Linked DNA regions of Homo sapiens: all the other regions are linked to region 2. The links are contacts of gene promoters, found by promoter capture Hi-C in human tissues and cell types (Jung and others, 2019). All regions are on one chromosome and are shown on one strand. Each heading gives the region's core, a stretch centred on a gene start or on the middle of the fragment in contact. The rest is flanking DNA. Distances are from core to core; before and after follow the strand shown.

What was found. Contacts are between HindIII fragments. The study calls those that stand out against the background at their distance.
Region 1: a contact is called between a fragment that was not itself captured here and the fragment with the promoter of INTS10 in region 2, in 1 of the 25 tissues and cell types used here (H1 embryonic stem cells).
Region 3: a fragment that was not itself captured here is called in contact with the fragment with the promoter of INTS10 in region 2 in 3 of the 25 tissues and cell types used here (dorsolateral prefrontal cortex, hippocampus and mesenchymal stem cells).
Region 4: a fragment that was not itself captured here is called in contact with the fragment with the promoter of INTS10 in region 2 in 1 of the 25 tissues and cell types used here (heart left ventricle).
Region 5: a contact is called between a fragment that was not itself captured here and the fragment with the promoter of INTS10 in region 2, in 1 of the 25 tissues and cell types used here (spleen).

What each region holds. Positions count from the first base shown.
Region 1 is chr8:20,130,528-20,135,532 of GRCh38, reverse strand. LOC105379312 (a long non-coding RNA gene) reads right to left here. Exons shown (of 3, transcript XR_949563.2): 3 at 2,215-2,527. Among named protein-coding and RNA genes, the nearest start is that of SLC18A1, 50 kb to the left of the region's middle. The HindIII fragment of the contact is 4,316 bases long and covers 428-4,743 here.
Region 2 is chr8:19,813,947-19,819,168 of GRCh38, reverse strand. INTS10 (integrator complex subunit 10) reads right to left here and starts at 1,753. Exons shown (of 17, transcript NM_018142.4): 1 at 1,503-1,753; 2 at 827-894. The coding sequence starts at 1,631. RefSeq lists enhancers at 813-902, 1,113-1,202, 1,703-1,762, 1,803-1,882 and silencers at 1,383-1,512, 2,033-2,172. The HindIII fragment of the contact is 14,804 bases long and covers 555-5,222 here.
Region 3 is chr8:19,393,569-19,398,456 of GRCh38, reverse strand. SH2D4A (SH2 domain containing 4A) reads right to left here. Exons shown (of 10, transcript NM_022071.4): 10 at 2,239-3,907. The coding sequence ends at 3,815. Among named protein-coding and RNA genes, the nearest start is that of SH2D4A, 82 kb to the right of the region's middle. The HindIII fragment of the contact is 4,332 bases long and covers 1-4,115 here.
Region 4 is chr8:19,368,452-19,374,013 of GRCh38, reverse strand. It overlaps SH2D4A (SH2 domain containing 4A), which reads right to left. Exons shown (of 10, transcript NM_022071.4): 8 at 354-484. Among named protein-coding and RNA genes, the nearest start is that of SH2D4A, 58 kb to the right of the region's middle. RefSeq lists a silencer at 1,357-1,518. The HindIII fragment of the contact is 6,040 bases long and covers 1,275-5,562 here.
Region 5 is chr8:19,413,075-19,418,056 of GRCh38, reverse strand. The region is part of intron 7 of CSGALNACT1 (chondroitin sulfate N-acetylgalactosaminyltransferase 1); the gene reads left to right. Among named protein-coding and RNA genes, the nearest start is that of SH2D4A, 100 kb to the right of the region's middle. The HindIII fragment of the contact is 4,237 bases long and covers 1,404-4,982 here.

The DNA.
Region 1 (5,005 bases), core at 1,336-3,835, 320 kb before region 2:
AGTAGCTGGGGCGGAGCCCTGGCCGAACTGCTTGTGGCATGCATAGTATGCTTGCCATACAAAGGTGTGGGAGCTGATGTGGGAATTCCCACTCTTGTTGACGCTCCACACCTGAAGCACTTTCCAGAAATTATGGTAGCGAACCCTACTCACCCCTCAACTCAACTCTGGCTGTCTCTCAGTCCATCCTGGTCTCCAGCCCCTGCCACTTTGAGCCAAGGGGTTTCTTTTGGAAATCACATCCACCCACTCACTGCTCACAGGCTTTGCCTTCACCTGGGTTGAATCACAGATTAGTTCGCCTTCACTCTATCTGCTCACAGCTGTGGCGGCAGAAATTCTTCATAATCAGCATGTTCATGTCTCCTCCCATAATTTTCAGAACCAATACAGGTTGTGGAATGAGCAGGTAGAAGAGATGTGGCCGTCTTTAGAAAGCTGAGATAACTATTCTGACTCAAGTTATAGGATCTCCCCCACTTCACCACTGTTTTCAGTCTTTTTCTTGGGCCAGGCATGATGGCTCATGTCTGTAATCCCAGCACTTTGGGAGGCTGAGGCAGGTGGATCACCTGAGGTCAGGAGTTGGAGATAGACCTGGCCAACATGGTGAAACCCCGTCTCCACTAAAAATACAAAAATTAGCTGGGCATGGTGGTGCATGCCTGTAGTCCCAGCTACTCAGGAGACTGAGGCAGGATAATCGCTTGAACTCAGGGGGCAGAGGTTGCAGTGAGCCAAGATTGTGTCACTACCTCCAGCATCTCAAAAAAAAAAAAGTCTTTTTCTTTTTTTTTCTGCTTCTCCTTTTCCTCCTCCTCCTTCTTCTTCCTCCTCTCCCCTCTTTTTAAAGGTTGTGTATGTAAAGTGCATAAATTTTAAGTGTGTGCTTGATAAATTTATGTGTTTGGGTAACTACCACTCAGAACAAAATATAGAGCACTCTCAGCACTCCAGAAGCCTCCTTCCATCCCTTCTCTGTCAATACTTACCACCTCCAGAGGGAACCTCTGTTCTGACTTCTCTCCCCATCAATTACTTTTGCCTATTCCTGACCTTAATAAATGCTTCTCCCCTTACTCGGGTCTCTCCTCATTTTTCTCATTAGGATTGTATAATTTTCTCTACCTGAATTTCTTGAAGGGGAGTCTGTGACATGTTGGTCCTCTTAAATGCATCGTTTCACTTCATCCCCCTGGGGTGGGCATTGTGGTCCCCATTTTACAGATGAGAACAGCCCGCGAGGTTAAATAATCAGCTTGAGGTCACTTAGTCACTTACACTTACACAACAAGCAGCAGAGCCCAGATTTGACTCAGGTGGGTCTGACTCCACAGTCTGAGGCCTTTCCTTAACAAATCAATCTTTTAACACCTTTTGCTCATGAACAAAATTTAACACAAGGCTTTTTTTTTTTTTTTTTTTTTTTTTTTGCAACAGTGAATTTTATTACTAATGTTTGATTGGGCTGTAGAAACTTTTCTGCATATTTTAAGAAATGTGCTATGTTACCTTCACCTTCTTCCACCTTGATTCTCCTTCCTCCTGAGCCACCTACCAAATTCTGTCTCAACTCTCAAAATGAAATTGGCCTCTGATTTCTAGTATTTGTGACTGACTTGAAAAACCACAAGTAAAGACCAATTCCCAGTATTTCCAGAAGAGGGCGGTAGAGCCCACACTAAATTGCTCAGACACCGAACTAGTAGATTGGATCGGCCTGGACCAAATTCTGAGACTTGAGACTTGATGTACTTTACTTTCTATTAAACAAAGTAATAGGGCCTTACACACACTGGCTTTGGCTTACACATTTTAAGTAAAGTTTATGATATAGTTAGGCTCTGTGTCCCCATCCAAATTTTATCTTGAATTGGAATTCCCAAGTTTTGAGGGAGGAACCTGGTGGGAGGTGATTGGATCATGAGGGCAGTTTCCCCCATGCTGTTCTCGTGATTTGAAGGAGTTCTCATGAGACCTGATGGTTTTATAAAAGTGTTTGGCAAGTTCCTCCTTCGCTCCCTTTTCTCTCTCCTGCCGCTGTGTGAAGAGGATCCTTGCTTCCCCTTCGTCTTATGCCATAACTGTAAGTTTCCTGAGGCCTTCCCAGCCATGCAGAACTCTGAGTCAATTAAACCTCTTCTCTTTATAAATCGCCCAGTCTTTGGTATGTCTTTACAGCAGTGTGGAAAGGAACTCATACAGTTTATTTGCTGTATTCCCTTCTCCCTTCCCTGCTTTTCCCTTGTCCACATCCTTGTCTTCCTTTCCAACTCCAGGCTTCCTGAGACAAAGGTAGTTTCCTTTCACTCTGTCTTGCCTCTGAACTTCTCCTAGCTCTCATAATAAGTGGGTGAAAATTCTGTTTTCTTCAGGCTCTGTTTTTTTTCCCTAAGAATAATCCTAAAAAGTAGCTTACTGGATGTGTCAATGACTTACCTCAAAGTGACGACATTCTAATGGCTGACTTCAGTGCAACAAGCATTGCCTACCATGTGGCTGATACTAATCAGATCTATATGGGATTCTGTAAAGAAAAAAAAAATTAAAAATAATAATAAGCACTTACTGTGTGGTATGATGTGCTTCTTCTAGCTACTCAGGAGGCTGAGGCAAGATGATCACTCAAGCCCAGGAGTTAGAGGCTACAGTGAACTATGATGGTAGTATTGCACTCCAACCTGGCCAATAGAGTGAGACCCTGCCTCCTAAAACAAAAACCAAAAAAACACGCCAGAGTCACTTACCCAGACAGCCATAGCCACTGCCAGTGTCATTCTTACTATTCAGGGTGTAGGAATGGTATCTCCCAAGGCCAGACTGTGGGCTCAAGGGTACTTCTGTGCCACATACGTCTCTTGCCCTCCTCAGAACTTTCCACAATATGTGAGCTGGAAAATCTTGGTTGATTGGAACTTGGAGAGGGAATCCCACTGAGAGTACTCGCTAGCTGTCATTTCCCTAATATGGGTTTAGTGTCTTCATCTATGAAACAGGGAGTTGGTCTTTACCAGCCCAACTATTCTAGGATTCTGCAAATCCTGCTTTTACCTTTTATTAGGGCCTTGGAGAGAAACACCAAGCTGGAATCAGCCAGAGTTCCTTAGGTGGACCAGTGGAATGTTTTACTTACCTGTGACTGGCAAGTCTGTTCACTTCCTGTTTTCTAAGACTTTTGAATATGGATATTTTTTCATGGGACTCCTCAGATCAGTGCTCAGTAGTGAAAGAGAGACAGAGTTTGGGCTGCGGAGATCCCTGGGAAGTTTCCACCACTTCAGATAAAGCTTTAGTTTCCTGATGGCACCAGACTTGGGCCTCTGTCTGACTCTTCAGAAACAAAAGAAGAATTGCAAATAGCATCACTGCAAGGCTGCAGAGAAGGGGAGAACGTGCCTTCTACATTCTTTGAGAGTCAGAAACCAGCAGGGCTTTCCTTGGCATAGGACTGAATTAAAGAAAAAATTCGGGGCCGGGCGCGGCGGCTCATGCCTGTAATCTCAGCACTTTGGGAGGCCGAGGTGGGCAGATCACGAGGTCAGGAGATGGAGACTATCCTGGCTAACACGGTGAAACCCCGTCTGTGCTAAAAAAAAATACAAAAAATTAGCTGGGTGTGGTGGCGGGCGCCTGTAGTCCCAGCTACTCGGGAGGCTGAGGCAGGAGAATGGCGTGAACCCAGGAGGCGGAGCTTACAGTGAGCTGAGATCGCGCCACTGCACTCCAGCCTGGGCGACAGAGCGAGACTCCATCTCAAAAAAAAAAAAAAAAAAAAAAAAAAAAACGAAAAAGAGAAAATTCTGTGTTCAAATGAATGACTTGAGTAGCTCTGTTGATGAAATACAATTACGTCCTGTAAATCCTATGTGAAATGTTATCCTACACTTGATTCAATTCCTTAACATCACTTTCATTCCATTACACAACCTAACTTTTCATCGTTGATCAGACCTGAAATGAGGTTTAATGTTGGGCATGGAAGACCATTGAAAGACGTGAGGGTCAGAGATTAGGCATTAAGAGCACTGGGCACACGTCGTGGGTATTAAACACCTGAAAAATAATTAGTTCTGGCATGTTCATTTTCTAAAATAACCATGTCATACTGGATGGAGGTCTTGCTTCAAAATCAAAGACCTAGTTTGGATTTTGCCTGCCCTAGGAGGCTCTAGGAAGACGTCTTCTCCTCTCTGAATCTTATTTCACGGAGGGTAGTAAGACTTGGGAACTATATTTACCCTTCCTTCCCCAGGGTTGCTGCAAGGATCAGAGGAGGGGAAGTGTGTGCTCGTAATTGTAAAAACCAGACAATATGCCAGTTATGAATGCTAGTCTGCAGGTCACTGTACCCATGGAGTGAGTGGCAAGACAACTATTTTGCTGGTTTTCTGCTTATCCTGGTGTAGAATTCAAATGGAGCCTGAGATGATAGAACAGAGAACATCAGTGTCTGCTGTGGGTCTTAGGCTCTGCCTGTGATGCTTCTTTCTCCTACAAAGGCTACTATAGTTGTAGCTCGAATCCATCAATCAAATGGACCATAGATATTTACAGCCAAGCTATTAAGCCCAGTTTAGATGGGAGGCGTAGACAAGGCACGGCCAGCCCATCCTCCAGAGGCTGGGAGGACCTAGGCAGGCAGTGCAGGAGACGCACAGTATATGGTGGGGACAGGCAAACCCTAGAGGGATTACAGAGAGTGATGATCAGAGTGAGGGGGCAGGGAGGTCTTTATAGACAACTGGGGTCCCAGAAAGTGGGTCCTCAAGGTTGGGAGGGAATCAAATGACTAGATGACAGGTGGAGTCATTCAGAGCGAGGGGCCGCAGTAATCAAAGGCCACGAATTGGGGCAGTGACTGAGGAGCTGGTGCAGGAGGAGGCAGCAAGGCTGGGAGGGTGGGATGGGCTGGATTCTAGAAGCAGATAGCTTTTGGGCCAGGGTCTATGAACTGTCTCCTAAGGCATCAAAACAAAAGGAAAAAAGGCCTGAAAGACTGGCATGG
Region 2 (5,222 bases), core at 504-3,003:
CTCCTATCACAGTGACAAGAACTAAAAAGAGACTAATAATATCCAGTGTTGGGAAGGGTATGGGAAAACACACTCTTTATACACCATTGGTGGTAATGTAGACTGGGATCGCACATTTTGGAGAGTAATTTCATAGCGTATCAAATTTTCAAATGCGCATAAACTTTGACTATGAAAATGTCTTAGAATCTATTCCACAGAAAAACACCAAAATATGACTACAAAATTGTTGACACACTGAATATAATTTCAAATAATTTAAAACTATCTATTTAAATGTCTACCAAGAAGAGAGTGTCTACGAAATACTACACAGGCATGAAAAGGAATGAAGTGGATCTCTACATACTGATATGGGAAGGGGTCCATGAGAGTGAGTAAAGGAAACATGCTGCAGGGCAAAGGTAGTATGGTCTTCTCACTTTTGTAACCCCTTCCCCCCAAAACCTTATTTATGTATTATGCATACATGTATAGATATACTGCCTACAAAACTTAACTCTGGTTCAGTTTAGGATGCACTTTCACTTTTTGTTCTCTATAACAAGTAGTGTTTGAATTTTTGTAATGAGCACATATTATTTCTAGAATAAATTATGAAACAGAAGTTTTAACAAGGATAAAACATAAGAATAATAATTAAACTCTTCTGCAAAAGCCATGTCAGCAATTTATGGCAGGCCTGGACTCCTTACTAGGTTTGCTTTAGGTATCGAAGATATAGATGAACTTGAAGATCTTCCCCCAACTCCCACTTCTGCAGAGAGAAACAAAACCTCATGGAGAGATTCAGTGCAGTAAAAGTGATGTCAAGCGTCCCACTCACATGTCGTACAGCAGCCTCCCGGCGGTGGCGGTCCGCTCTGCATTCCGCTCGATGGTGTACATCTCATACTGCAACACACATCAGGCACCCTGGTCACTCACCCCTGCCCAGAAGGCTCCCAGCTCATCCAGCATCGCTCGTTGGCCCTCCTGCAGGAAGGGAGGGCCTGAGAGTGAAGCTCCGCCTGGTGACACAGCGCCACATACATGGCAGACTTGCCATTGGGCTTAGAGTGTGACCCTGGGGTTCACCTGCAATCTCAGGCTCCCAGGATTAAGTAGGATAATATTTCCAAAGTCGCAGGCCCTGAACAAACTGCTGCCATTATGATGAATGAAGGAGCGAATGGCCTTTTGCTAGTGGCGATCATGTGCTGTCTAGGCCAGATGGCACGCTGAGCCCCAGGGACCTAAGCACACCCGACCTCAAGCGGGATCGGCCGTCTCTCAAGTGCTGGGGAGAGGGCTCCTGGAAGGTGTAGGAGCAAGGCGGGTGAAAGGTGTAGGAGCAAGGTGTAGGATGGGAGGGGAGAGAGGAGGGGGTGGGAGGGGAGAAAGCAGGGGGCCGGGCAGGAGGCGGCAGCCCCCAGGCAGGCGCAGCTCTGGGCCAGGGCAGCCCGGGCGACGGGAGCGCGCACCTCCACGCAGAGCGGCCGCATGCACAGCCGGGACCTCACCTGGATGTTAAAGTCTGCCGGGTAGAGGCTGCGGGCCGTGATCAGCCACGCCTTGGCTGCCCACAGGTCTTGCGGCACCAACTCCCGGGCTCGCTGCACCAGGAACTCGCAGTCCCCCTGGGCAGACATGACCCGAGCGCTCTCCAGCCGCCAGCCCGAAGCGGCCGGAACGTCCGGCTCTGGACTCTCAGCCGCCACGGCAGCCACCGCCGCCGCCGCCGCCACCGCGGGGGAGGCTACTGCGCATGTCTGGAGGCGCACGGAGGCTGGCAGAGTGGATCGGGAAAGCTTTTCCGGGTTTTGCGAGCAGTCTCCTCCCCTTGGCTCCTCGTTACCGCCCGGTCCCCTCCTCTTCTGAGAAGCCAGAGCAGTTGAACCGCTTCCAGGTCACCTCGAAAATGCGGAGAAGTGGATTTTCATTCCTGCGGGCTGCAGCGTGACCTTGGTGAAGTCAGGGAGCATGCGCGGGAGCGGGCAGGCGCCAGGCCTCTTCGCCATTTCCATCCTCTCTGGGTATTGCTCAGTTTGTCGGGGGCGGGGGCGGAGGCGGGGGCGGGGAGACGGGCGGTCCCGGGGAATGGGCGGTCCCTGGGCGTCCCCCCGGCGTGGAAGGTTGAGAAGAAGTTTGAGAGGAACAGCAGAGGGTCGGGGAGGCGGCGGGAAGCACTCTCCACCCGGGCCGGCCTGAAACACCTTCCCCGGGGGCCGCTGCCTGCGACTCACTCCCCGGGCTTCGATTTACGCGAAAACTCCTGGGGCTGGTGGGGGTGATCGTGCAAAGCGTGAGCTCCGGGGTTCCTTCTCTTTCCGAAATCCGTCCACGTTTTATTATTTCACCTTTATGCACCGGTTTCTCCAACAAACGTTTATTGAGCAACGAAGTACTTGGAAAGCGCTTTGGTGGATGCCGTCCGTGGGAGCTGCAAAGATGACTAAAACCCTGACCCAGCAAGGGTTTTATATGTTTTAAATGTTCTGGACGTGAAACCCACAGAAAGATAACTACGCTATTATTATAATTATCTCCTCCAGCCACAATCAATGTCCTTTTCACCAAAACTCCAGATTTGTTTTCCATCTAAGAGATGAAAAACATCTAGGAGATTCTCCATCTAAGAGATTCTCTTGCCTCAGCCTCTCGAGTGGCTGGGATTACAGGCGTCCACCACGACGCGCTAGCCCGGCCAATTTTTGTATTTTTAGTAGAGACGGGGTTTCACCATGTTGGCCAGGCTGGTCTGGAACTCCCGACCCCAGGTGATCCGCCCTCCTTCGCCTCCCAAAAGTGCTGAAATTACAGGCATGAGCCACCGTGCTGGGCTTCGAAGCACTGTTTAATATCTCCTACTTATGCACAGAACAGCATAACTGTATGATTACTTTATGGGCCAGGATTACTCAGTGATACAGTTATTTTGGGTTTGTAGAATAGAAGATGGTAGAAAATTGGATTTAAACGGAGTAGGATAATTTTTATGTTATAAAGTGTACAGCATAAAAGCAGATTGCTAGCTTGAATTGTTAAAATTATTTCATTGATGTTAATATATGAAGTGTAAGAATTTTCAAATGGTAAAAATGACTGATTTGGTCATTAAACTTTCTGGTTTTGGTCTTTACCAAAAATAAAAAAACAACTCCACACTTGTTCCTGAGCCTAGTGTTCTGTGGAATAACAATTGTAAATTAAGATTTTAAATTTAGAGGCTAAATAAGGAAATTCTGTTTTTGTTTGTTTGTTTGTTTTTGAGACACAGTCTTGCTCTGAAATCCAGACTGCCAGTGAGTGCAGCAGCTCGATCATGGATCACTGCAGCCTTGACCTCCCAGGCTCAAGCCATCCTCCTGTCTCAGCCTGTGGAGTAGCTGGGACTACAGGTGTGTGCCACCACATCTGGCTAATTTTAAATTTTTTTGTAGAGACACAGTCTCCCTATGTTGCTCAGGCAGTTCTTGAACTCCTGGGCTCAAGTGATCCTCCTGCTTCAGCCTCCCAAAGTGCTCGGATTACAGGCATGAGCCATTGCGCCCAGCCTCTGTATGTATTTTAGATGCCAACCTTGAGAGGGCCTCTAGACTTTTTGCCAGAATACAACGTAAGGTTTGTGGTTATTTTCTAGTCAGCTTCTTGATTTTGAATGGTCCCCAGCTAAACATTTCTCCTACAGTGTTATGCTGGCATCTCAAAGTACAGAAGGGAGGTAACACACCAAGTGAGTTTACATCTTTTGGCCTCCTTGCCATGATCTTGACTCACTGGAGACTTGAGGCGCCTAGCTCATGTTCTTCTCCATGACAACTTTTTTTTTTTTTTTTTTAAAGACGAGTTTTGCTCTTATTGTCCAGGCTAGAGTGCAGTGGCACAATCTCAGCTCACTGCAACCTCTGCCTTCCGGTTTCGAGTGATTCTACTGCCTCAGCATCCCAAGTCGCTGAGATTACAGGCGCCAGCCACCATGCCCAGCTAATTTTTTTTTTGTATTTTCAGTAGAGACGGGGTTTCACCATGTTGATCACGCTGGTCTTGAACTGCTGACCTCGTGATCCACCCACCTCGGCCTTCCAAAGTGCTGGGATTACAGGTGTGAACCACCACGCCGGCCCTTGACAACTTCTAAGTCACATAAAATGCCCTGCATCCAGCACCCGGCTTCAATTTCCGTGAGCTCAGTTCAGTGATCTGAATTAAACTCTACATTGCTTTTCCCCTTCCACTTCAAAATCTTCAAACTCCAAGTTTCCTCACATAACCTCTTAACTTCCCTGCCCTCAACTCTCTCCTTGGTTCTTTTTAATAATTTCCTCCTTTCCCTTCTCCCTGATTTTACCTTCATGGGCCTCTATCCCCTTGACACCTACATTTTCCCCTAAGTGCATCTGCCACCCTTTGGGCTTATTCCTCTCCCACTCATGCTAAACCCTGTGCTCAGACATTCAATATGTTCATGTCTTTGCCTTCTTATCCTGCCACTGTATCCACTATTTTTTTTTTTTTTTTTGAGACAGAGTCTTGCTCTCTCGTCCAGGCTGGAGTGCTGTGGCGCAATCTCAGCTTACTGCAACCTCCTCATCCTCGGTTCAAGTCATTCTTGTGCCTCAGCCTACCGAGTAGCTGAGATTACAGGCACAAGCCACCACACACGGCTAATTATTGTGTTTTTAGTACAGACAAGTTTTCGCCATGTTGGCCAGGCTGGTCTCAAACTCCTGGCCTCAAGCCATCCACCCTCCTCAGCATCCCAAACTGCTGGCATTACGGGTATGACCCACCGCACCCGGCCCTTAAACTCCAAGTTTGAATACCACAGCCCTATTTATCTTTCAAGACTGTACATCTGGTCATATATGTGTTTTTGTTTTGTTTTGCGTTGTGTTGTTTTTAAACAGTGTCTTTCTCTGTCACTCAGGCTGGAGTGCAGTGGCACGATCATGGCTCACTGCAGCTTCAACTTCCAGGCCCAAGCAATCCTCCCAGCTTAGCCTCCCAAGTAGCTGGGACTACAGGCGTGTGCCACCACACTTGGCTAATTTTTTAATTTTTTGTAGCAATAGGGTCTGATAATATTGCCTAGGTTGGTCTTGAACTCCTAAGCTCAAGCAATCCTCCTGCATAGGCCTCCCAAAGTGATGGGATTACAGGTATGAGCCAGCACAATGGGCCCAGATAAGTATTCTTTTTTTTTTTTTTTTTTTTTTTTTTTTGAGAGGGAGTCTCGCTCT
Region 3 (4,888 bases), core at 700-3,199, 420 kb after region 2:
AAGCAGATTTCATGTCATATTAGCAAAGGATGCTTAATTCCAAAGCATTAGCTCAGATAGGCAATTTTGGGTGGAAATGTCCCGGAGGTATTTTTGGTGACCTGACTGACCATTGCCCATCTACTTTTTTCTTTCTCTGATCCTTTTTTTCCTAACTTGCCCTGTGTTTTCTCCATTTTTAGGGTAAGCTTTGGGCCAGAAAGCACCTTTTTTTTTTTTAGACGGACTTTTGCTCTGTCACCAGGCTGGAGTGCAGTGGTCTCGGCTCACTGCAACCTCCGGCTCACTGCAACCTCCGACTCACTGCAACCTCTGACTCCCAAGCTATCTCCTGCCTCAGCCTCCTGAGTAGCTGGAATTACAAGGCATGTGCCACCAAGCCCAGCTAATTTTTGTATTTTTTTTTTTTTTTTTTTTTTAGTAGAGACGGGGTTTCACCATGTTGGCCAGGATGGTCCCGATCTCCTGACCTCGTGATCCACTTGCCTTGGCCTCCCAAAATGCTGGGATTACAGGCATGAGCCACCGTGCCCAGCCAGAAAACACTTTTTCAGACTGACTAGCACTGCTGGTGACACTCAGGGCCAAGCGACCTTCCTTGTGCATCCTACTGCAGCAGGGTAGGGCAGGAGGCCAGAAGCAGGGTCCTTGCAAGTGACCTGATAGGTCTGTGAGCATCTGGCAATACGGTGGCAGCCAGAAAATCTTACATGACTGTGGGCGGGAGATTCCAGAATTGTGGGAGAGAAGAATCTAGATGGGCAGGAGTATTTGGCCACAGTCCCAGTGAGTCAGGGTCTGCAGACCAGAGCCCCTAGGCTTGAGAACCAGGACAGTAACATGAAAGCAGCATTCCTAGACCCAGAAACCTTGCGCAGGCAGGTCAAGGAGCTGGGCTTGCAGAGGCAACAGGAGGAGGAGACCAGGGTCAGAGTTTGGACATCTTCACCTCAGACCGTAACTCAGGGTAAATGTAGGCAGGACAGAGACCACAGCACTGCTCGGATGACCATTCAGGCCTCCTGAATTCCATTCGGTTGAATTCAGTTTCTGAAATCTGTAAACCATTCTCCTTCCCTAAGAATTTCAAGTGTCATTCGTGCCATCATATCATCCAACACTGGACAGTGTATTCCTCTATCAATCAGCAACCAACAGGATAAACTAGTCCGGAACCCACATCTGCTCCCCTGTGTAATATTGGGTGAATTCAGTTGGGTGACTTCCTGTTTTCTAAATCTTCCTTTAATAGGATGTTGCTTTGTGTAGTTATATCTGGATATGGCCACAATTATTTCCTACAAGATAACTGTAGGCACAGGGGGGTATTGGATTTTTTTTTCCCCCAGCACGTAGTCTTGCTTTGTAGCCAGACTGGAGTACAGTGGTGTGATCTCGGCTCACTGCAACTTTCGCCTCCCAGGTTCAAGCAATTCTCCTGCTTCAGCCTCCAGAGTAGCTGAGATTACAGGTGCATGCCACCGTCCCCGGCTAATTTTTGTATTTTGAGTAGAGACGGGGTTTCACCATGTTGGCCAGGCTGGTCTTGAACTCCTGAACTCATGATCCACCCACTTTGGCCTCCCAAATTGATGGGATTGCAGGCATGAGCAACTGCACCTGGCCAGTACTGGAATCTTACATCTTCCTAATTATTAGTGGTGACAAGTGGGTACTTTCCATTCATTCCAGTGAGAAGCACTAGAACCTTAAAATTTCAGAATTGGATGAAAATAACAAAGATCACCCAGTTGAATCATATTTTTTTTTGTTCAGAAGCAAAAACTGAGGCTCAGAGACAAACTGTCCTGTCCAAGATTATACAGAAAATGGTAGGAAGAGTTGAGAAGTTTCTCAATAATGCCATGACTGTTGAATCATAGGAACAAAAGCCAAGAGATGGATCCTTACAATAGTTTAACAATATAAACCACATGGAACATTTCAAGAAAGAGTTAAACAATGATCTATGTTTAAAAGCTATCTCTACCTGGCATAGTATCTCACATCTATAATCCTAGCACTTTGGGGGTTTGAGGCAGGAGGATCGCTTGAGGCTGAAGTGAGCTGTGATCGCACTACTGCATGCCAGCCAGGGTGTCAGAACAAGACTCTGTCTCTAAAAATAATAATCACCATCATCTTTCTCATTAGAACACACATGCCAACCATCCCCTTCTCTGGCTACATTTTATAGTCAATGAGTGCTGTACGCAACCAACAAGCTTGTAACAACACTGCTGTATCATTCTGCTTTTATTAGAAGGCAATGTAAAAGAGTATTGACCTACACAGTTAGGCCAGAGGTACTAGCCAATCTCCATCCTCCAAGAAAAATGATCTCCAGTGGCTCAGAGCCACCTCAGTCCCTGTCCAGAGGCCGTTCGCCTGACTGGGACTGGACTGAGGTGGGCGGGGGTTCCAGGAGGGCATAAGATTCCTGACGGGACAAATATGTGTGCCAGGGCTAAACAGAACTGGCTGGAATGTTTTTCTTACCTCCCATTTCTACTTCATTATGAAAATGGTGGACTGGGCAGCAGTGAATGGGTCGATCTTGTGTGTCAGGTTATGTAATTACATAAACGACTGTATTAGCTTTCTGGGGCTATAGTAACAAGTCAGCATGAACTCAGCATGAACTAAGCAGCTTAAAACAACAGACATTTATTCTTCCAGTTCTGGAGTCTGGAATTCTGAAGTCAGGGCCATGCTTCCTTCTAAGGCTTGTGGGGAACCTGTCCCATGCCTCTCTGCTGGCTTCTGCTGGTGGCCGGAGATCCTTGGTGTCCCTTCCCTTCCGGCTGCATCACTCCAACTTGCCTCTTGTCCCCTGGTCTTCTTCCCACTGCATTTGTGTCTATTACCAAAACTCTCTCTTCTCCTAAGGATGCCAGTCATTGGATTTGGGGCCCACCCTAATCCAATGTGACCTCATCTTGACTATATCTGCAAAGACCCTATTTCCAAACAAGGTCCCATTCACGGGGATGGGGGTTAAGACTTCACCATATATTTTGGGGGAACACAATTCAACCACAAGTAGCATCCAAACAGCCTGCTTATTCTGTTCTTGTCTAAGCACTTCTGATAAAAAATAAAAAAATACATGTACAGATGCTTTATCCTTTTGGTGCACTATAGAGTATATCCAGGGGAGGCCAGGCCAGCCCCGGCCCCATTCTCCCGAACAAGAAAACAAACTCAGCGATGTTTGCTCACTTTCCTGCAGGTCCATCTGTATTTTCATGCATGTTAAGCCTCTCATTCAATTTACATTCATGACTTCTGTTTTTCTATGTCTCTCATGTCCTGGTTCCAACATGTACAATAAGTGAGGTGTGTTTTAAGCATCATCTCAGCCAGGAAAGGCTTTTGCTACCATTCCAAAGCCAACATGAAACTTCGAAACTTCATGTCAACAGGCCCCTGAAACCTCCTGAGATGATACAGAGGGAGTGCAGGGGTCATATGATAGATATTCGTTTTCAAGTACACCTTAATTTCTAAAAGTTTTCCATTTCTTCATTTGTTTTATTTTATGTACATCATTAAGGTCATACCCTTCATGACAGGTACTTGCTGAAATTGAGACTCTTCTCCCTTTTGAGCAGAGGTCATTTTCTCTTGACATTGAATTCCAGTATTTGTGCAGAAAAGAGGTGTCAATGAGGACTCCATGGATACTTTACTTTCAGTTGATCAGTATTGGCTCTGCTGCAGGGTGATTTTGGCTTCACACATAAATGTTGCAGTGGCATTTGTCCAGGGGAAAGCCCGCTTGGAGGCTGTAGGATGACCCTGATGGAGGCTGTCACTCAAACAGCTCCAGGTAGTCAGGCAGCTGGTCCTGCTGACCACAGGGATAGAGAAGGAGCTCCTTCCCCAGGGAAGTGATGGGTTCCTCCTGTCAATCAGAAGGCACGGGGTCAGATAGTGTAAGTAGTGACCACATGCTCTTCCTACTTCCTCAGAGGACATCACTAGCTGCCTACCCATGATTTACACAAAGCTTTTGTGGTTTATGATCATCTTAAAAGGCATTTTTCTTATCTACATGTGACCAGGTACTCCTTTCCCTTCAGGGCTTGAATTCTAACTTAAGGCCTATGAATTCTCATAGGTCAGGGGTCCCCAACCCCAGGGCCATGGACCAGTACCAGTCTGTGGCCTGTTAGAACTGGGCTGTATAGCAGGAGGTGAGCAGTGGAGTGAAGCTTCATCTGTATTTACATCTGCTCCCTGTCATTCACATTATCGCCTGAGCTCTGCCTCCTGTCAGATCAGTAGCAGCATTAGATTTTCATAGGAACACAAACCTTATTGTGAACTGTGCATGGGAGGGATCTCAGTTGTGCGCTCCTTAGGAAAATCTAATGCCTGATGATCTGTCACAGTCCCCCATCACCTCCAGATGGGACTGTCTAGTTGCAGGAAAACAAGTTCGGGGCTCCCACTGATTCTACACTATGTTGAACTGTATAATTATTTCATTATATATAACAATGTAATAATAAAATGCACAATCAATGTAATGTGCTTAAATCATCCTGAAACCATCCCCCAACACTGAGTCCATGGAGAAATTGTCATCCAGGAAACTGGTGTCACAAAGTTTGGGGATTGCTGTCATATGTGATCCATGTGGGTACAGCTTTTATTTTTTTGTTTTAGCATTTCCCGTATTCTCTGCCCCAGTGGGGTTCCCTGAGTATTTAAGGAAGAACTAGGTTCTAAGATAAATGAAATGTGATTAACAATCCTGATTATCAGGAAGAATTATCAAAGACAAGCCCCCACCCCTGTCCCCTCCCCAGTACTTGTCTCAGTCCTTTTCTTTGTAATTGTCATTCATTGTTAGAGCTGCTACAGGACAGTAACTCAGAAG
Region 4 (5,562 bases), core at 3,045-5,544, 450 kb after region 2:
CTGTGTGTCCCTCGGTGAAAGGAAGACGTGGCCATTTGATGGAAGTCACAAACAAGCACCCTAGTGGTAAGTCACCAGGAATGCCTCTTTGCCCTCCCATCTGATGCATTTTATTTGTGGTGATAAGTCTGCCCCACAGTGCATACAGTGCCCATGAATGCTGACTGCTTTCTAAACAGTCATGAGAATGCAGCTTACTGAGGCGTCTTTGAAAAACTGCTTTGTGAAATAATCTGAAAGACTCTTTTTGGGCAGCACCAATAAATGGAAGCTTTTATTCTGGCTTCCTGGTAGATTAGCACAGCTTCATCCGCCCTAAGACGAAACACCATTGAGGAAATCTCTGCACTCACCATGGAACCAGGGGGCTATGGTGTCTGAGGTTTTCTGGTAGCCCGCTCGAAGTGGTAGCTGCTCCTCTTTAAACCACCGGATGATGTCCTCTTGGGCAGAGCTGGACAGTGTCCTCACCACTCCCTGATTTCTGTTATTTATAAAAGTTTTTCAAGTTAGATTTAACTAATTTGAAAATAATGCCCTCAAAAGTCATATATATATATATATATATACACACACACATACATATACATGCATATATATACATGCATGTCTGTAGACACCAGAGGTGCTTTATACATGCAAATATATATACATATATATATATATACACATGTGTGTGTGGGGGTGGGGGGAGAGAGAGAATGGGAGGGAGAGGGAATTATACACATTTCCAGATCTAATTCAATGACCTCAGCTAACAGGAGGCTGGAGCCCTGACACACTACCATTATACACCTCCTCAAGGGCAGAAGAGGAAGGAATATAAATCTGTCACTTGTGCTTCCAGTCTTAAAGGGCTAGTTATAGAAATGAGCCACTGCTGTGTTAACACACAGATTTAAGTTCATTTGTATAGGAATTATAAGCTCCATTAACTTCCAATTAACATCTGAGAAAATAAGCATTAAAAGGCAAAATACACTTTTACCCCAGCACATTTTCCTGGAAAGCAGGTATTTGCAAACAATAGAAATCAAATGCAATAAGATAGATTTCTTTCCTAATGTTTGCATTATTTGATTTTCTCTTCTCTTTCCACTAACCTCCCTGACTTGCTTTATCCTCTTCCACACTTTGATGACATTTAGTTCTGCTAAAAAAAAAAAAAAGTAAAGAAATACAAAGTAAAAGGAAGAAGAGTATTTGAAGTTTGAAAAGACAAAGATACAGGCAGCAGAATCATTTTGAAATAGATTCAGTAGCAGAACCTAAGTTCTAGGATGTAAGTCAATTTCTACTACAAAGAGTAACCTTGCAATGTAATAAACAGACTTCCAAGTCCTACTCAACAGCGTACTAATTTTGAGCAGAATTCAATTTAAACACAACAACACCACTGCAGTCAGTGAACTATCCTGTCTGTAGAGGCACCTGCTGGGAGACAAGCGTCTATCTGAGCCAATGAGATGTGCTCTCCAGCCACTCTCCAAAAACAGATGCTGATGGGGTCCAATATCAGCTCCATCCCCTCCCACCACTAAAGCCAAGGAAGTATCCATTCCCTGCAGGGATGCACTAGGAGACACACTTGTCTGGGTCATTAAAACAGTCTTCTGTACTGGAGTCCCTGACCAGCTTTCCCACACAGCCCCTGTACCCTCCTTGAGTTCTTCCTCAGGTCCATCAGGGAGGGAGAGCTGTGTAAATCATAGAGCCCTTGGGAGAGCTGCAGCAAGCCTGGACTTGGAGCGCCCTCTAGTGCTGAGATGGCTGCAGTGGTCACAGGCTCAGGAAACAATTTAAGAATTCTAAGTTGCTTTAGAATTTCTGGAAGGGCCTCTGAAAGACAGGCACAAATAAAGCCAGGCTGTGGAGAGTGGAATAAAAGCCTAATCCTTAAATGTGCAGATATTGTCACACATACACAAGCATCAAGAAGACTCAGGACAATATGACCTCACCAAGTGTACAAAATAAGATACCACAGGTCAAGCCTAAAGTCATAGAGATGTGTGATCTCTGAAACAATTCAAAATAGCTGTTTTAAGAAAGCTCAACAAACTTCAAGAAAGAACAGAGTCAATTCAAAAATTTATCAGGGAAATGTAGCAGAAAGACTGAAGTAATTTTAAAAAATCAAATCCTGGAGCCGAAAAATGCAATGAATAAAATGAAAAATGCAATAGAGGGTTTCAACAGTACACTTATTAGTGAGCCAGAAGACAGGCTATTTGAAAATACACAGAGATAAAAAAGAAAACAATGACATGAAGAAAGCTTATGGGGTCTGTGGGACAACATCAAAAGAGTAAATATTGGAGTTATTAAAGAGGGAATTCAGGAAGACAAAGGGGTTAAATGCTTATGCAAAGAAATAATAACAGAAAACTTTCCAAACCTGGAAAAAAATTAATAGCCAAGCATAGGATGATCGAAGGTCACCAGTCAGATTCAACCTACATAGGAATACCCCAAGACATATTATAATCAAACCCTCAGAGTGCAGAGACAAATAGAGGATCCTAAAAGCAGCTAAAGAAAAGCAGCAAATAACATGTAAGACAGATCCAATACACCCAGCAGCAGACTTCTCAGAAGAAACCGTATAGGCCAGAAAGAAGTGAGATGATACATGCTGAGACTGAAGGAAAAAAAAAATGCAACCCAGAATACTGCACACAGCAAAGTATTCCTTCAGAAAAGGAAAGAGAAAGATTTTTCCACACAAACAAAAGCTGAGGGAATTTACCACTACCAGACTTGGCCTATAAGAAATGCTAAAAAATAGTTCTTCAAACATAAACTGGATGCTAACATGATTTTTGTTATAATACTATCATCATGATGTGTAAACCACTTATATCTTTAATATAAAGATATGAAGACTAAAAACGAACTTAATATGAAGACTAAAAAATGAACTATCAAAAATAACTTTAATAACAAGATAGGTAATATAAAAATGTAAGTCATCACTCAAAAATACAAAATGCAAGGAGAGAATGGAGGTAAAGTGTACAGTTTTTTTGTTTCTTTCCTTCACAAAGTTTGTAAGTCTCTAAAATAACTTGTTATAACTATAGGATGTTTTTGTAAGTCTCATGGTAACCACAAAGCAAAAATCTATAACAGATACACCAAAGATAAAAAGGAACCAAAATGTACTACTAGAGAAAAGTGCCTAACCACAAAGACTATAAGAGAAGAAAGGATCTACAGAATAACTAGAAAATAAGAAGGAAAATTGCCATAGTAAGCCCTTACATATCAATAATTACCTTGCATATCAATGGATAAATTCTCCAATTAAAAGGCATAGAGTGGCTAAATAAAAATGAAACAATACCAAATTATACATTGCCTGCAAGGGGCTAACTTCACCTGTAAGGACATGCATAGTCTGGAAGGGAAAGAATGGGGAAAAAACATTGTATGCAAATGGAAACCAAAAGACAACAGGAGTAGCTATATTTATATCATATAAAGCAGACCTGAAGCTGAAAACTGTAAGAAGAGACAAAGAAGGCCAGTATACAATAATAAAGAGTTCAATACAGCAAGAACAGTTATAAATATATATGTACTCAATTAACATGGAAGCACCTAAATTTAGAAAGCAAATATTAATATACCTACATAGAAAGACTGCAATACAACAATAGTAGAGGACTTCAACACCCCACTTTCTACAATGAACAGATCATACCGACAGAAAATCAACAATTAAACCACACTCTAGAATGTACCTAACAGACAATTATAGACTATTCTAATCAACCAGCTGCAGAATACACAGTATCTCAACAGCAAATAGAATACTCTCTAGGAATATGTTAGGCCACAAAACAATTCTTAAATTGTTTTAAGTTAAAACTTATCAAGAAATCAGTAATAGGAGGAAAACTAGAAACAAATATGTGGAAATTAAACATGCACCTGAACAACCAATGGGTCAATAAATAAATTTCAGAAACCAAAAATGTTCTTGAGACGAATGAAAATGAAAACAACATACCAAATCCTATGGGATACAGCAAAAGCAGTTCTAAGAGTGATGTTTATTCCAATAAACACACATATCAAAAAAGTAGAAAGATATCAAATAAGTAATTTTATTGTTGTACCACAAGAACTAGAAAAACAAGAACTTGATGCAACATTAGTTGAAGGAAATATAACAAAGATCAGAGCATAAATAGATAAAATAGAGACTACAGAACTGTGCAAAATATGAATGAAATGAAGAGTGGTTTTAATAACAAAACTCACATAAGTTTAGCTACACAAAGAAAAAGAGATGACTCAAATAAATAAAATCAGAGATGAAAAAGGAGACATCACAACTGATACCACAGAAATAAAAAGATCACTAGAGACTATTATCAACAACTGTATGTCAACAAAATGGAAAACTTGGAAGTAAATCAATAAATTCCTGGACACATACAACCTACCAAAATTCACTCATGAAAAAACAGAAAACTTAACAGACCAATAATGACTAACGAGACTGAATCATTAATAAAGTGTCCTATCAAAAAAAGCCCAGGACCTGATGGATTCACTACCAAATCCTATCAATCATTTAAAGAAATACTAATACCAATTCTTCTCAAACTACTGCAAAAAACTGAAGTTGGAGGAATTCTTCCTAACTCATTCTATGAAGTCAGCATTACCTTGATATCAAAACCAGACAAAGACACAACAAAAAAAGAAATCTAGAGGCCAATATTCCTGATGATGATGAACATAGATACAAAAATCCACAACAAAATACTAGCAAACCAAATCCAACAGCACATCAAAAACATCCTTCACCATGTTCAAAGGAAATTCATCTCAGGGACGCAAGGATGGTTCAACATAAACGAATCAATGAACATGACACATCACATTAACAGAATAAAAGACAAAGACCACAAGATCATCTCAACAGACACAGGTAAAGCATTTACTAAAATTCAATATCCCTTCATGATAAAACCTTTAAACACATTAAGTACAGAAGGAATGTACCTCAACCCAATACAGGTCATATATGACAAAATCACAGTTTACATGCTGAAAGAGGAAAAATGGAAAGTTTTTCCTTTAAAACTTGGAACAAAACAAGAATGTCCACTTTCATCACTTTTATTCAACATAGTACTGAAAGTCCTAGGCACAGGAATGAGTCAAGAGAAAGCAATGAAGCACATCCAAATTGGAAAAGAGGAACTCAAATTGTCTGTTTGCAGATGACCTGATCTTACATACAGAAAACCCTAGAAGCTGCACCAAAAAACTCTTAGTCCTGATAAAATTCAGGGAAATTGTAGTATATGAAATAAACTTACAAAAATCAGTAGCATCTCTATGCATCAACAATGGACTAACAAAAAAAAAAAAAAGCAATTTTATTTACAATAGCAAAATAAAATAAAATAAAATAACTAGGAATAAATTTAACCAAGGAGGTGAAATGTCTTTACAAGAAAAACTATAAAACACTAATGAAAGGCAACAAAAAAATAGACATCCCATGTCCATGGATTAGAAAAATTAATAGTCAAAATGGCT
Region 5 (4,982 bases), core at 2,273-4,772, 400 kb after region 2:
ACTTCTCTGCTAAGATCCTGGCTGCACAGGTGATGGATAGTGGATGCACACAGCCCCCAAGGGTCCCTGTAGGGTGAGATGTCTCTGTTGTCACAGGCAGTTAGTCCACTTTGCAGAGAAGCAATGCAAGCAGCAGGAGGAAAGGCAAGCCAGAAGAGGATCTCTGTGTCTTCTGGGCATGGCCCCCATGGATGGAATTTCCCGGTATTGTTGACAGCATTGGCAGAGAGGGAAAAGGCCCTTCTCCCACCTCAAGTTGGGCTGTGATTTTTTCCTGCGGGGAGATGAGCCAGGTTTGTCTGAAGCTGTGTTCTGGCCCAGGCTGTATCTCATGGTGGCCTTCCCATCTGAGGGACGTCTGTTCTTCTTTGCTGTGGGTAGCTCTGCCTCTTGCTAAAGAAAATCCATGCTTCTTCCCACTGAGGACCCCTTAGGGTGGAGGAAGGACATCTGCTGTGGGAACCTGAAGACACGATAGCACCAGGCCTCTGATGCTTCCGTACAATGGGAGAGTAAACTGATTTCCATCCAAAACCCATGTTCTGGATGCGTTTGAGGATTGACTTTGTGTGTAAGCTTCTAGAAATAGCAAAACCTGTTGTTTCCAGCCCCATCCTGTGCCTTTCATCCTCTCTCCCCAAGTTAACCTCTGGCAACTGATATTATGATATTTTCCAGAAAGTTTCAACTTTGGGGCCCTCAGGTTGGACAATGTCATGTCTTATATCCTAGCATGGCTTCATTTTGGGGTGCACCAGGTTTACTAATAATACAGTTCTCTTTTCCCCTAGTGGAATTGCAATACCACAGATATACTGTGTATCTGTTTTTGTAGTGTATCTGTATCTGTGCTTTATACATAAAAACAGTAAGAGTTTTTCACGTCTTAAGAATCAGTTTTCAGCTGGGTTTGGTGGCTCATGTCTTTAATGCCAGCACTTTGGGAGGCCGAGATGGGCAGATCACTTGAGGCCAGGAGTTTGAGACCAGCCTAGCCAATGTGTCAAAACCCATCTCTACTAAAAAATAAAAAATTAGGCGTGCATAGTGGCACACACCTACAGTCCCAGCTACTAGGCAGGTTGAAAATCGCTTGAGCCTGGGAGGCAGAGGCTGTAGTGAGCTGAGATCGCACCACTGCACTCCATCCTGGGTGATGGAGTGAGACCCTGTCTCAAAGAAAAAAAAAAAGTGAGTTTTCATCTATAGTCATGTGTTACTTAACAATAGAGAGATGTCATGTATCGTCAGGCAATTTCATCATTGTGCAAACATCATACAGCGCACTTATGCAATCCTACATAACATAGCCAACTACACACGTAGGCTGTATGGTACAGGCTGTTGCTCCTAGGTTACAAACCTGTACAGCATGTGACTGTCCTGAATACTACAGGCAATTGAAGCACGATGGTATTCAGTATCTAAACATAGAAATGGCACAGGAAAAATATGGTATAAAAGATTTTAAAAATGGTTCCCATGAGTGGAGCTTGTAATACAGGACTAGAATTTGCTCTGGGTGAGTAAATGAGTGGATGGTGAGTGAATGTGAAGGCCTGTGACATTACTGTCCACTACTGTGGACTTTATAACCACTGTAGACTTAGGTGACACTAAACTTATTTTTTAAAAGTTTTCCTTGGCCGGGTGTGGTGGCCCACACCTGTAATCCCAGCACTTTGGGAGGCCGAAGCAGGTGAATCATGAGGTCAGGAGTTCGAGACCAGCCTGGCTAACATGATGAAACCCCATCTCTACTAAAAATTCAAAAATTAGCTGGGCATGGTGGTATGCGCCTGTAATCCCAACTACTCCACAGGCTGAGGCAGGAGAATCACTTAAACCCGGGAGGCAGAGGTTGCAGTGAGCCGAGATCGTGCCACTGCACTCCAGCCTGGGCAACAGAGCAAGACTCTGTCTCAGAAAAAAAAAAAAAAAAAAAAAGTTTTCATTTCTTTAATAATAAGTTAACCTTGCCTTCCTGGGTGATCACCATCTCATATGCAGCCTGTTGTTGACGGAAATGTTGTTAGGCAGCACATGAGTTACACTTACAAGAAAATGTTTTTAAATCTTTTACATCAGATTTTTCCTGTACCTTTTCTATGTTCAGATACACAAATACCATTGTGTTACAATTGCTTATGCTTACAGTTGTGTCGTTAAGCAGCACGTATCACCCTCATTGACAGAGAAACTTCTCGCTTCCTTTCCCAGAGTTCTAAGCTTCTAATTGGATTGAAAGGGAAACAGGATATAGGATTTATTTTCTTTCTGCCAATCAAAGTTAAAGTTCCTTTGGGTTTAAGTAATGTGTTGTTTTGCATTTGACATAGAATGTGATTAACATTTCCATTTCAAATTCATAAAGACCTTATTTGCTTGCAAGGAATTGTTTTCGTTTTACAATCCAAAAGATTTTTCTTTGTATTATTATTCCTGCAGGGTAGGAGTTGCGAAGGGAATCAGAGGCACAGTGCAGTTAGGCAAGTTTCTCACATCCTCAGAATTAGTGGTGAAAGCAGAAACCACTCAGATTCCCTGTGTCCATTGTTGCCACAGGCTGTGAATTATCCTGCAGCCTCTGACATTTACTTCCAAATGCAATTTTGACCTTTCCTAGACCACAGAAGTCTGATATTTTAGAGTTCAGTATTTATGACTATTTAGTTTGGTGAAACAGCAATTCTTCTCCTTGAGATGAAGGACTCCCCCTTCCCAAAAGAAGAGTATGCTTATGTTTTTTACTGGACAAACCAGTTCTTGAGTGCTCGCTGCCTACGGGGGACTGGCCTAGGTGCGAGAGGAGAAGTCAGAAGAAATGAAACGCTTTCATTACTTGGTAGTAATTTGTGAGAGTGTTTCCTCACTTTCTTCTTTTTATAGAGGTGAACTGGCTTGTTCAGGATTGTACAGCTAGCTAGTGGCAGAGCTCAGGGCAAGAGATTTCCTTCTATCAGTACAGAGGCAAGAGATTTGCTTAGGATCTAGATGAGAACTGACGTATGAAGGAAAAGTCTTGACAAAAATTCCAAAGGAGAACTTGAAACTATAGAAAGTAATAGAATGGAGATGGATTATTTAGGTGGGGAGAAGATGTAAAATTAAAAGTAATGGTTGGAGATGGATCAGTTAGTAATGACTTCCTACTAAGGGTACGTTCTGACTCAGTCTTGAAAGAGATGGTACCTATATATTAATTACTACATCCTTGATAGCCTTCTTGGAATACATCAGTATCAAAGGTGAAGGGAGAACAGAGATCCAGAATGCTGCTCTAATGAAAGTTAGTTTTGCAAACAAAAGACAATCTTTACTAGCAGCCTTTGAAATAGGATCACATTAGTCAATGTATGTTATTCCTTCTTGTGACTGTTGCCACTGTCATTTGATAGTGTTTTGCCTGCAGACAAAAGCAAGAAACCACATTTATGATAGTGTGTGTGTGTGTGTGTGTGTATGTGTGTGTTTTGACTACTGTTTTTTCCTTGTATGTATAGACCAGCAGTAATTCATATTAAGTGAAACTATGGGATTTTATACTAACATTTAAATTTTTTTAGTTTAAACCATGAGATAAAACTTGCTGGTGCTTTCATGTGTAGAAACAGTTCGCTGAGAAAGGAATGACTATAATTTAAACAAACATTAACTTTAGACGTTTCACATTCCTGGTTCAAGCTTTGCCAGTTCCTGTTTAGGTCACTGCAGGAGCCTCCTACCACTTCTATCTTAAGCCTCCTTCCCTCCCCTAGACTCCGGTTTTTTGTTCACCCTCTGCCAGAGATAGGTTTCTAAATCACAGATTCATTCAGTTTTTTAAGCAATCTTTGGGCACAGAGCCAGAGATGTGCTGGTAAATATTTAACAACCTGCTCTCTGAAGAGGGGGTGCAGGAGAAAGACCTGATTTATAGCATTTGCCAATTTCCATGGTGTAAATACTCCCACCGTGGCCTATTTCAGGCTACCAGCATGACGTCACTGAACACAAGGTTGGGAAGAGATTTGTCCAATCCTTGTGAGCTGGTGCAAGCTGGCTCCAGCACAGCACTGCAAGCCCTGAGCCCTTGTTGGGATTCATTGTCTTCCACAGACCAACTCTCAAATGGATGCAGAGAAAATATCTGTAAACCCCAGAACCTGGCACATGGTACCAGCTCCATAGTCACCCAAGCCAGCCTTGTTGCCAGGTGAGCACACCTGCTCAGTCTCCCTGGCTGTCTCTGCTCCTCAAGGCCACCTCCTTATCATTTCTAATGCCCACGGCATCCGACATGCACATCTTAGTCTGCCATGTGGTCTTACCCGTCAGTTAAATCTGATGACTTTGTGATACTGTTCAGTGTGTGCATAGCATGCTGGCTTCTGTCCTTGCCCTCTCTCTGGTCACACCCTTGACCTCTCTACCTCCCTTCAGAAAGTATTTTACTATTGCAGTTCAGTTGAAACCTTTTTGTAAATTGCCAAATGAGCATGGCACATCCTATGCATCCTTGCATTCTGTTTCTATTTATTCAGGAAACATACACCCGCTGAATACCAAAATTAATGTGAACAGAGGCCCTTTATGGAGCCTTTCCAGAAGCCAGTCCGGTGCCCACGTTATCTCACGTAATACTCAATAAGGGGAAGAGGTGCTATTATTCTCATTTCACAGATGAGGAATTGAGGGCCAGATGCCTGTAGCGGCTAAGTGGCAGGGGTGAGAACTCGAGTGCCACACTATGTGACCGCACCTGGGCTGAGGATGCTGGGCAACAGGGGATACATCCTTTGCCCTCAAAGCGCTTCATGGGGGCAACGAGGGCATTTAGTTTTAGATGATAGGTTCCTGGAAATGGCAGAACCTGGATGACTCCTTGTCCAGCATGATTCCCTTGAAGACACAATGTGTTTTCTATGAAAACACCTAGAAAAGACTTACAGGAAATTGTGAATAAGTGCAAATACATCTGGAAGGAGATGGCCTTTGACTGT